Linked DNA regions of Homo sapiens: region 2 is linked to region 1. The links are contacts of gene promoters, found by promoter capture Hi-C in blood cells and fetal thymus (Javierre and others, 2016). All regions are on one chromosome and are shown on one strand. The core of a region is centred on a gene start or on the middle of the fragment in contact, and the rest is flanking DNA. Distances in the headings are between cores, read along the strand shown. Region 1 holds the start of ID3 (inhibitor of DNA binding 3). Region 2 overlaps PITHD1 (PITH domain containing 1).

What was found. The method cuts DNA at HindIII sites, captures the fragments that hold promoters and counts their contacts. A CHiCAGO score of 5 or more calls a contact.
Region 2: a contact is called between a fragment that was not itself captured here and the fragment with the promoter of ID3 in region 1, in 1 of 17 cell types (naive B cells). The highest score is 6.0, in naive B cells.

The regions. Positions count from the first base shown.
Region 1 is chr1:23,558,251-23,564,286 of GRCh38, forward strand. It overlaps ID3 (inhibitor of DNA binding 3), which reads right to left and starts at 1,251. Exons shown (of 3, transcript NM_002167.5): 1 at 877-1,251; 2 at 685-769; 3 at 1-165. The coding sequence starts at 1,176. The coding sequence ends at 710. All of the region lies in intron 2 of LOC124903876 (a long non-coding RNA gene), which reads left to right. RefSeq lists an enhancer at 121-250 and silencers at 1,191-1,450, 1,318-1,564. The HindIII fragment of the contact is 2,494 bases long and covers 1-1,920 here.
Region 2 is chr1:23,784,543-23,790,624 of GRCh38, forward strand. PITHD1 (PITH domain containing 1) reads left to right here. Exons shown (of 6, transcript NM_020362.5): 4 at 1,133-1,237; 5 at 1,773-1,881; 6 at 2,733-3,690. The coding sequence ends at 2,834. It overlaps LOC105376860 (a long non-coding RNA gene), which reads right to left. Exons shown (of 2, transcript XR_947067.3): 2 at 6,072-6,082. Among named protein-coding and RNA genes, the nearest start is that of LYPLA2, 3.6 kb to the right of the region's middle. The HindIII fragment of the contact is 912 bases long and covers 4,151-5,062 here.

The sequences.
Region 1 (6,036 bases), core at 1-2,500:
CCACAAGTTCACAGTCCTTCGCTCCTGAGCACCAGGTTTAGTCTCCAGGAAGGGATTTGGTGAAGTCAAGTGGGCAGGGCGAAGTTGGGGCCCATCCCTGCCGTCCGGCTTCCGGCAGGAGAGGTTCCCGGGGTCCCAGGCAGAACGGGCGCCAGCACCTGCGTTCTGGGCGGGGGAGGAAAGAAGACCAAGGAGCAGTCAGTTTCCGCCGAGCGTGCCGAGGCGGGGGCCGTCCGCAGACTGGCCGGCGCCAGGGAGGAAACTTGGTCTGTACCTCCAGCTGATAACTCCGCGCCCCACGCTGCCCCCACCCAGTTGGCGCCAAAGACCACAGGCGGAGCTTGCGCTACCCCTCCTACTTGGAATTGACACTAGCTGGGAGGGGGCTGCCGAAGACAGCTCCCTATACAACATGGAACAGAAAGACTTGTATTTAGTCGGACCCATGTCTACTTTGCCAGACCCTCGGCCACTGCGGGAGGGCAGGGCCCAGGCGCATTTAAGGCTTAAATGCACATCACATGGAAACTGACTCTGCCATTCATTTGATGCAACCATGGGCAAGTCACTTGTCCCTCTCTGGCCTCAGTTTCCCTAAACCGAGTGAGTGGCAATTTTTCAAAACGTCTGCCAACTCCAGGACTTGCCGTTTAAACCTCCCTCTCCAAGAGAGGAGATACTCACCTGGAGGTGTCAGGACACGGCCGAGTCAGTGGCAAAAGCTCCTTTTGTCGTTGGAGATGACAAGTTCCGGAGTGAGCTCGGCTGTCTGATTAGAGGAAAAGAGGGAAGAGTTACGCGAGGCAATCGGGAGCTCCGAGGGTCCCGCAGCATCCTTGCCTGGGTGTTCAGCCCTGTCCCGACTTCGAGGCTTACCTGGATGGGAAGGTGGGGGCCATCAGGGGGTCCAGGGGCTGGCTCGGCCAGGACTACCTGCAGGTCGAGAATGTAGTCGATGACGCGCTGTAGGATTTCCACCTGGCTAAGCTGAGTGCCTCTCGGGACTCCGGGTACCAGTTCCCGCAGGCGGGAGTAGCAGTGGTTCATGTCGTCCAGCAAGCTCAGCGGCTCCTCAGCTGCCGGGCCCTTCCCTCGGCCCCGGGCGATGGCCAGACTGCGTTCCGACAGGCAGCACACCGCCTCGTAGCAGCCGCGCACCGGGCTCAGCGCCTTCATGCTGGGGAGTGAGTCCAGAGGTGCCCCAAAGAGAAAGAAAACCAAAAGAAGTCCCGCTACAGTGACCTGCAACGCGCGCACGCTCGCCGCGGCGGTCACTTATAGAGCCTGCCTGGAAGGCACGCCTCTTTATTCAAAATGGCCCGCCTCGGCCCTGCCCCCGCCGGCCCTGGGCGTTCACAGCCCGCTTAAATTGCAAACAGGCTTCCTCCGGCTGGTCTGACGCCGAAGACCGCGGAGCCGCGGATTCAAAGAATGAGGAAGCGCTGATACCGGGGAGAGGCGGGCCTCTCCGCCAGCAAGGATTTAAAAATCACTCAAAACCATTAACTTCCAGAATTTGCTTTTTCCTGGCAGCACCCCAGATCTTTGAGCTTCCCTGCCCCCTGCCAGTCCGCCTTTAGCCCAACACTGGTTCGAGCCACAGCTCCTCCGAGGTCATAAATCCCTGAACAGCAAAGAAGCTCCCCCCACCCCCCGTTTTTTTTAAGCGAAAGATTTTTCAAGGGAAACTTGTAAGGAATTAGTGCCGCCTTGTTCCCCAATTTGCTGTTCGTCTGACCTCCAGACTCACTGGCGTCAGGAATTATCTTGTGACCAGAGGGAAAAAAAATTAATTGCGGTGAAGCTGAGGTTACAATGAAGAAAACAGATTTGCGCTAGGCGCTGAGATTGCAGAAGGAGGAGGGAAAGGGGGTTTGAGCAAAGAACACTATTTATTTGAGCAACAGGGGAAAAGAAGAAAGCTTGAGCCCATGCTTTTTGCATGGGGAAAAAAGGAGCCTGGACCCTCTGCCCCATAAACTCCATAACGAACTAAATATATGCACAGTTGTGCTTTGTGAGTTCAATTAGAATTTTGGACAAGGTTTTAAATATGGAGGCACAGATGGGACAATTTCTACATAAACCTTTTTAAGAGCCCCCCCCCACCCAATTGGGTCAGCAAATTTCTTAACTTCCCCTCTCTTCACTTTCCACACACCTCTGTGTAGAAAACAGTGGTAATTTCATTGCTCTATTGTCTGTCCCTTTCTGCTATGGAAGGGCAGGCCACCTGGACTTGATTATTCTTAGCCCTGCTGAAGTAGCTCCAGCTCCATCTGAAAGACCAGGAAAGGAACCAGAGGGCCGGCAAACTAAGTCCTGTATTGCAACAGGACACTGTGCTCAGTATTCTTTGATTCTTTGCTTGCCTTCTTGTCACCTCCCTAGACATTTGGGGACCTGCACTTCCAAGATGCTGCTTTCCATTTTGGAAATGACCAAGTGGGATTCCCCCAATAGTTGCTTTCCTAATGAATCATTGGTGAATATTTATGGAGTCCCTCCGCATAAAACAGTGGCTCCTGCTTTCAAGAATCTCACAATTTGGGGAGACAAGATTAACACAGGAAACAAGAGTTCGATAATGTGTGGCACTGATTAACAGGACAAGGGGGGCTCAGAGCCAAAGAGAGTCGCAAAACGGTTGAAAAGGACACTGACTGGGAATTGAGAGCCCTGGGTTCATCATGCTAGCCCTGACAATAATTTGTCATGTAATCTTGAACAAGCCCAGGTACTCTGGCTTTAATTGCCTTGTGAGTAAAATAGACGATGGTACTAAGTGATTATTTAAAATCCTTTCCAATTGTAGAAGTCCAAGGTTGTGTGAAATTTGGATATGTAGGTGAAAGATGCTGAGGGGCCCAAGGAAGGCATTTAAGACATGCCCAATGTCACACTACAAGTAATAGCAGAGCCAGTCTTGAAGCCTCGTTCTTTTCCATCAAACCACAGGGCTCTGTGGCCCAAGAAAGATTTCTTCCTGGAATGTTTTTTTCAAGGACAGGCTCTTCAGTAAGAAAAGAGGAAGAAAACCTGTGAGTGGGCAAGTCAGTCTTTACATGCTACAGCCGTCAAGTGCCAGCTATTTGGTCAGGAAAGGCAAAATAATGGCTGTAGGAACTCCTGAATAACCGAAGAGAAGATCCTTCTTTTCCTATCTTGCAGACTTCTGTGGCAAAACGGTCAAGTCCAGAGGGTTCTAGAAAAATCACGGGCCAGGCAGATTTCTGTGCAAATGCCCATTCTTCTTCTTCTTCTTCTTTTTTTGTTTAAACTAATTGTGTAGACTTTGGCTGAGTTATCCTGGGTGCTTCTATTTTCCCATCTATAAAATGGAACTAATTGGGTCTACTCATTCATTCATTCGATAATTATTGAATGCCTCTTCTCTGCAAAGCACTTGATGTGTTCACTCCATCTGATCTTAGTCTTCTTACTGCCTGGGGGACCCAGCATGGGCCAGTTGTGTGGAAGGTGCTCAGTCTACCCAGATTCTCCTCCCTTCTTTTCCTTCCTCTACTACTGCAGCTGATGCCTCAGGCTTGTATAGTGATTTAGGTTTGCAAAGCACCTTCGCATTTATTATTTCCCAGGATGCTTCCAGGCTGAAATGCCCATGGGCTGTGTGACATAAGGCAGAAGGATGCTGTGGAATTAGCAAGCAAAATTCTGTTCTGTGCATGCCAATAATTTGCAGTGTGCCCTTGGACGAATTTCCTCCCTTCCTGGGCTTCATTTTCTCTTTAAAAAAAAAAAAAAAAAAAAGATAGTGGGTAGGTTGGGAGGAAGCAAGTGCCCTTTAATGGTCCTCTCTAGCCTAAGATTCTAATTCTGAAAGAAGCAGGTTATGGTTAGGAACACTGAATAGTGTTTAAACCCAAGAGACTTCTTTTTCCCCACAGCAGACTGGACAGGCTAGCTCAGGCCTTCTGCAACTTGTTTAGCAGTGGTGGGGCCTCAGCCTCTTATTCCAAATGCCTCTGAACTTTCTGTTCCCAGTTCTGCTCCTTTTACCAGCTTTTTCCCCCCTCTTGCATTTTTTATTTTTATGAAAGGATGTCATTAAGGCTTTTGTCTGCGCTGTTTTTGTTTCAGAACTTTTCTCACAATCCTATTTTTTGTTGAGGAATCCGCTCCTTTGCCCAGCTGTGGGTCCCGGTCCCACAGCTGTGTTGATCTAAGACTCAGCCCCAGACAGCCTGGCGCCAGGGTGGGACGTCATGCGTTCACACAGGGATGCGTGTCCCAGGCAACCTTTCCTCGGGCAGTCACCGGCCGGCGACTGCCTCCCCCACCAATGAGCGCCGGACACCCGAGAAAGGGGCGGGGTCTGCATCGCCCCAACCGCGAGCGGCTTGTGAATTGCAGATGCTGAGAACTTGATAATGTTGCTTCAATTGGGGCCCTTTAAAGTCTTTTTTTTTCTTTCTCTTTTAGTTCTTTATTTTCTTTTGTCTATTCCCTTTCTTTCCACCTTCTTCCTTTATCTATATATGTGTATAATTTTTCTTCTTCTTTTTTCTAACTATCTCCTCCCAGTGTCAGGAATCATTTTGTAAGCATTTCCAGGAACTCAATCTTCCTCTGCCAAAATAAAAAAAAGAAAAAAAAATTCAATGTTGTGCTCTCTGATTTTTTTTTTTTTGAGAAGTTGGCAGAACTCTTTAAGTTATACTGTTTTGTTTTTTAAAAAATTTTAGAATTTTTTAATTTCGTGGTAGTGGGCTCTCTAAATTGTTGATTTCAAAGTCAAAGTAATGATGACAAGGATTGCAGATGCCTTTTTGTCTAAGCTGAGCCTCTATTTATTATCTATCTATCATCTTTTTCCCATTTATGTCCCAGACATGGGGATCATGGGGACCTCAGAAACTTGCTCACGTTTACTTGGGATGTCAGTAGCTGGCCTATGGCCAGAACCCAGACCTCCTCTCATTTGACTCTCTGTCCACTCTGCCCTCTCTCTCTTTTTTTTTTTTGGGATGGAGTCTCACTCCGTCGCCCAGGGTGGAGTGCAGTGTTGTGATCTCGGCTCACCGCAACCTCCACCTCCTGGGTTCAAACGATTCTTCTGTCTCAGTCTCCTGAGTAGCTGGGACTACAGGCGCACGCCACCACACCCGGCTAATTTTTGTATTTTTAGTAGAGACAGGGTTTCACCATATTGGTCAGGCTGGTCTCGAACTCCTGACCTCATGATCCGCCCGACTTGGTCTCCCAAAGTGCTGGGATTACAGGTGTGAGCCACCGCGCCCGGCACTCTTAATAGCATTAGGGTGGTCTTAGAACATTCCCAAATGCCACATTTCATAATATGTATCTCCTTGCTCATAAGTGCCTAGAAGGTGTGGTGAGGACTTTGCAGTCACACACATAGAACATCCCTTCTCCTTCTCCTCCCCTCAGAGAGTCTGGAGCCCAAAGTATTGCTTGAGATTCAGGTGATACAAGGAAAGCACAGGGGATTCAGAATCAAGACCAGGCTCAATCCTTGCCCTGACTTCTCCTACCTTCACTCTGTCTCAGCTGTCTCTTCTATTAAATTGGGAGGAAAATACCATCCATCTACCTCACAGCTGGGAGAGTCAAAGGGGACAAGGGATGGAAAATGGTGTGGGAAACAGTTATTTTTATGTGCTGTAATGTGATGTAGCCCCTGTTGAGTGGGATAGGTGGTACCAAGTGAGTTGAGTGGTCCCTGCTGAGGCTGTTGTCAGGAATGTGAGGAGCATCAGGATCTAAGGCATGAGTCCTTACAGGGGTGGGGATTTCAAAGGCCTCCAGGATGGGCTACTCTCTAACTCAGAAGCACTCAGCGCCACCGCCACCATCATCATTCATTGAGTTCTGTTTGCCAAGTCCTGTTTGCCTTCTTACACATTTTCCCGCTGATCCCTTTTATAGACAGAGAGACAGTGGCTCAGAAAGGTGAATGTGCTTGCCCAAGGTCACATAGCTAGATAAGTGGCAGGTCCAAGATTTGCACCCAGGTCTGCCTGTCTCCCAAAGCCTGTATCCTCCTGCACCTAT
Region 2 (6,082 bases), core at 3,357-5,856, 230 kb after region 1:
TTCTTAAATTACATGCATTTTGCCCCAGCTAATATCGAGGCCTCTTCTGTGTGGGTGTGTCAATAAAACACCCTGGAATTGGTGGGGACATGTGGCTTAGTCTTTGGGAATTTGTGGGTTATAGAGACAGCTGCTTTTTAGATTACTCTTTGAAAAACATTTTCTTCTCTAGCAGTTTACTTTTTATTTATTCTGAGACAGAGTCTCTCTGTCACCCAGGCTGGAGTACAGTGGCGTGATCTTGGCTCATTGCACCCTCTCTAGCGGTTTGGATGTGAGATTGCAGTCTTTTGTGATCTTTCAAAATGGAAATCCTCATGTTATAAATGTTTTAAGAACTGTAAGGTGACTGAGTGTATGGCGTGGTTTTTGGACACAAAAAAATGCTTGAGCATTGGGTTACCTGATCTTTTATCTCTTAACTGTGTGTAATATGTTTCTGCCAAAGTATGTATTTTTCCCATGAGTAAGCTGTTTTATTTAATAACATCCTCAGTTTGGTCTGAATGTGCTGAGTTGTTTATTTTCTCCATGCATTTGCTGCATGTGACCTAGTTTGAGCCGTCTCTTTGTGTATTGCTTCTCATGTGATATTAACCCACTCAAAGATGCCATGGGGTTATGTTGCAGATCTCAGCTCTTTTTTTGTTGGATTAAAGATATTTGTAGGCTAGACGCGGTGGCTCATGCCTGTAATTCCAGCACTTTCGGAGACCGACGTAGGCGGATCACCTGAGGTTGGGAGTTAGAGACCAGCATTGCCAACATGGTGAAACCCTGTCTTTACTAAAAGTACCAAAATTTGCCGGGCATGGTGGCGTACGCCTGTAGTCCCAGCTACTCAGGAGGCTGAGGCATGAGAGTCACTTGAACCTGGGAGGTGGAGGTTGCAGTGAGCTGAGATTGTACCATTGCACTCCAGCCTGGGTGACACAGTGAGACTCTGTCTCAAAAAAAAAAAAAAAAAAGATATTTGGAGATACTTGTATAAAATGTCATTTCTAAAATATGACCCCCAAATTCAGTCTCCTATTGATAGAACCAAAGCCATTTAAGCAGTCAGTAGAAAATTTTGAAAACCTGAAACGTGATAATGCACATTTCTTGACTTTTCTTTCCTTTCCTTTCTCAGGTACAAGAATATTCCACAGATGTCCTTTGATGATACAGAAAGGGAGCCAGATCAGACCTTTAGTCTGAACCGGGATCTTACAGGAGAATTAGAGTATGCTACAAAGTAAGCACTGGGCCTGTCTTCCATTCTCTATGGCTTCTTATAGGGCTTGCCATTTATTTTTGGCCAGTCTCCTGCTCTCTTAGCATTGGAAATGAGTTAAAACAGTGGAGGAGACTTGATCTTTGGCTTGGTCAGTTTTTGGCAGAGATTCAGTGCAAGCCACAGACTTGTTAACTTGCAAGCAATTGGCAGATCTGAATGAACTCCTAGGGTGGTTTTAGGAAAGATGTGTCTCCCATTAGTTTAGGTTAACACTAAATGTGCTTTAGAATCCCTGCTGGGTTATGCAGCATTTCTCATTCCTGTTCCTTGAGGGCAGGAGCAGTGTTTATCCCTACTGCCTTGGACAGGATCTGGCAGGTGCTCAGTAAATGGTCATTGAATTAATTGCCTGTCCAAAGGAGAAGGAAGAACTCAGGAGCTCTGACTTTGCCTGGCTTTTACAAGCTGGAGCTGAATTGTTGTTTCACATGGTGGTGAGATACTCATTGAACTATAATTCATACCTTCTTTCCCTATTCCTGTCATCCTCTAGAATTTCTCGTTTTTCAAATGTCTATCATCTCTCAATTCATATTTCAAAAAACTTCGGAGCAGATACGACAAAGGTCTTTTATATTGGCCTGAGAGGAGAGTGGACTGAGGTAAGATGGGGTTGGAAAGGTTTTCCCCTCATGTCTACATATCTGCACACTGTGGTGATGGGAGCTTCCAGGGAAGGGAAAAGAGCAAGTGTCATAATTACTCCCAGTTTATTATTTTTCTTGGTTTTATCAGTATAAACTTTTCGTCTCATTTGAGAAACTACAGGTATTTTTAAGGGGGTTGAAACTGTTATTTTTATATAAATAATATATATAATATATATATATATATCTCAGCTCACTGCGACCTCCGCCTCCCAGGTTCAAGTGATTCTCCTGCCTCAGCCCCCCAAGTAGCTGGGATTACAGGTGCCCACTCCCACGCCTGGCTAATTTTTTTGTATTTTTAGTAGAGACAGGGTTTCACCATGTTGGCCAGGCTGGTCTCGAACTCCTGACCTCAGGTGATCTGCCCATCTCAGCCTCCCAAAATGTTGGGATTACAGGTGTGAGCCACCTTGCCCAGCCTGAAATTGTCATTTATATTAATTCACAGTTTTCTACTTTCAAATGCTTTCATTGAGTATTTTTGATAATCTTTTCTATTCATGAACCAGGGATAAGATAATACCATAGACAAGTTCCTATTCTCATGGTACCCCCATTATAGTAGGGAGACTGAATCTTCAAAGTTACAGGGTGAATCAATGATAATGATCTTTGCAGCTTTCTGGAGTTAAAAAGTATCAAAATTGGGAGATATTAGATGATGACATCTAAGTATTAAAATAAGGAGATATTAAATGATGACTCCTAGAAATGAACCTGAATAAGGACTACCGCAATGTGTGTGGTGTGGGAAAGGACAGTTCTTTTAATGGCTGGCTGACCCAGCCTCAATTTTCTTGCAGCTTCGCCGACACGAGGTGACCATCTGCAATTACGAAGCATCTGCCAACCCAGCAGACCATAGGGTCCATCAGGTTACCCCACAGACACACTTTATTTCCTAAGGGCTGGCCAAGGCTCCCATAGAGGCGCTGTGTCAGTGAAGATGTACGACTACCTGTTGGGAAGGACAAAGGGATGAGGCTCCAGAGAGAGTTGGCTGCCACAGCCTCTGCCAAGCTTTGTCTTTGGGGCTTGCTGCAGAAACCTGGCCTACGGAAGATACGACACCACTGGGAGGGTTGTGTAGGTGCCAGGGGACCATCGTGGTTCTCTAGGGCGCTGTGGAAATTGGGTCTTGGGCTGGGTGGCATCTGGCAGTCATGGGTAACACTTGCTTTTCCAGTTAATGTGGCCATGTGATTCCAAGTGTCATGTTGCTTTGTGGCAAGATTGTTGTGTGACTTGTTTTTTTGTTTTTGTTTTTGTTTTTTTAAAGGAAACTATTTGTGGGCTATAGGAAACTTTCTGATGCCTCCGGATTGTGTTAGTAGTAGCCATCAGGAGGGTCTCCAACTAAAACACTTGTTCCTGCTTGCTCCTTTCCCCTCTCATTGTTCAGCATTCTTGTCAAGTTGCCCAGCTTGGAGTTGTCTGTCACGCACATGTGTCCTGTGGTTATAGCTAGAAGGACAGGAGTCTCCTGCTGATGCGTGATAGCTTAAGCTTGGGGAGAAGGTCTTTTCCACTGCCTAGCTAAGCAGTCTGGGGAGAGCATGGGGATCATTTCTATGTGTGTGGGTAATCTGGTCAGTAAGATTGAGACTTAGTTAAGATTCCCCTTGGAAATTCCTTAATGTTTATTAGCTTCTAACTAGTGTTGTAAGTCCGATGCCAGAATTTGGAGATTTGAGTTCTTCTTTTCATGGCTTTTATTCACTGTGACTAATAAGCTTCCTAATAAATCCTTGCCAGACTTAATGTTTGTATTTTCTTTTGAGTTCTTGATAGCCACTGATGCAACTTTCATTTCATGGGGAACTGTACTGAACTTTGAAATTTTTTGTTGTTGTTTTGGACTAGGTAGATTATAGGAAGTGCCACAATTAAATCAAGACTGGAGCCGGGCGCGGTGGCTCACGCCTGTAATCCCAGCACTTTGGGAGGCCGAGGTGGGCGGATCACGAGGTCAGGAGATCGAGACCACGGTGAAACCGTCTCTACCAAAAATACAAAAAATTAGCCGGGTGCGGTGGCGGGAGCCTGTAGTCCCAGCTACTCAGGAGGCTGAGGCAGGAGAATGGCATGAACCCGGGAAGCGGAGCTTGCAGTGACCTGAGATTGCACCACTGCACTCCAGCCTGGGTGACAGAGTGAGACTCCGTCTCAAAAAAAAAAAAAAAAAAAATCAAGACTGGATCAGTTTCTCCAGGAATGGTCAAGCTTAATTTTGTACAGTAGGCCAAAAACACTCCTACACCCATATATAGTAAAGAAGAAGGTGGGGTTGAAAACCTGTATTTCACAGAAATTAACTGGGCATGGTGGCGTGCACCTGTAGTCCCAGCCACTTGGGAGGCTGAGGTGGGAGGATCACTGGAGCCCAGGAGGTCGAGGCTACAGTAAGCCATGATTGCGCCACTGCACCCCAGCCTGAGGCAACAGAGTGAGACCTTGTCTCAAAACAACAACAACAAAACCCTATATTTCATTTTGCACAAAAGGAAGTGATTTGTAGAATGACATTTACAAAAATAAGGGAGAACAGATTTTGGAGCTCATCAGAAGAAATGAGGGTGAGGAAAGTAATTGAGCAGCTCATGTGGTCTCCAGGTAGACCAAAGACTTTGGACTTAAATTTTGAAAGTCAGTTTAGCAATTGAAGAGAATGTAAGTATCTAAAAAGGGGATTTGATATGGTCAGTATTCTCTCCCTTGCAGAAAACAGGAACAGGTAATAAAGGGAATTAGTGTTGAATCTGATCCTTTTGGGAGAATTCCTCTGAGGCATTGGCCCATGCTGTTGTTTGGAGGATATAGCCACTGTTTCTCCAGCCTGTCCTAGGAAAGGTCTGCTACCACCAAACCTTGTTGGCCCTCAAAATTTCTAAAATGCAGCCTGAAATAAACCAGAATGCAAATGCTGTTCTTGAAAAGCATGAAGGGTCCTATTCACTCAGCCACAGCCTCTTTATTTCAGTTGGATCATTTTTTGGAGTTAAAAGAAGGGCTATGTTTAAATTTGGAGTAGGGGGAAAAATAAAGTTAAAAATCTTAGAGCAGACTAGCCCTTCACTAATTCCACTAATTAAAGCATTAATCACAGCTCCTGGGACTGAGCCTCTGAATTTGAAGCTTCACTCTGAAGAATTTGTTTTAAGTGTCATGGTGTCTCAGGTGATCGAGGTTGCAGGAGGAACTGTTCATTCTTCCATAAGTGGGGACATTACCCTCCATTTTCTTTTGACATTCAGTCCTGGGTCCTTGGCTTGTGGTGGTCCCATAGGCTCAAAGGTTTCCTGCCCCGAATCCTGGTATTGTAGGCTCCCTGACCTGTTGAGTACTTAGGACCAAAGTGCCTCTGGGCCTGGGGGAAAGTGCTTTGTTGAGCTTCCAACTTTGTACTGTTTTCTTTTTCTTTTCTTTCTTTTTTTTTTTTTTTTTTTTTTGAGACAGAGTCTCGCTTTGTTGCCCAGGCTGGAGTGTAGTGGCACTATCTTGGCTCACTGCAAGCTCCGCCTCCCGGGTTCACGCCATTCTCCTGCCTCAGCCTCCCCCCGAGTAGCTAGGACTACAGGCGCCCGCCACAGCGCCAGGCTAATTTTTTGTATTTTTAGTAGAGACAGGGTTTCACCGTGTTAGCCAGGATGGTCTCGATCTCCTGACCTCGTGATCCGCCCGCCTCAGCCTCCCAAAGTGCTGGGATTACAGGAGTGAGCCACCGCGCCTGGCTGTACTGTTTTCTTTCTGTTCAAAGAAAACACTAGTATAGGTTAGGCTGGGAGAGTGAGTCCTAAGCGGCTGAGGGTCAAGTGTGACTCATTTCCTATTTGCAGATCCCCACACATTCTCAGGGACATGCTCCTTCAACTCAGTTTGCCTGCCTTCTGACTTTTCTGTGGTCCCTGATACCTATTTCCACTTCAGCTTGATGGCAGCGTTTTGTGCACTGTCTGCATGACATTGCTTGTGAAGGGCAGCGCTAACACTGCCAGTGCCTGTCCAGCTCTCCTGATACGGCCTTTGTATTTTTCCTAGGTCCTTTTTTGCGTGATTAACACCTCACGCTGTGATTTTACTGTATAAACCATGTTCACACAACCTCATTTAAGCCTACCAACAAAGCTGTGAAGGAGGCAGGGTGGTTATTACC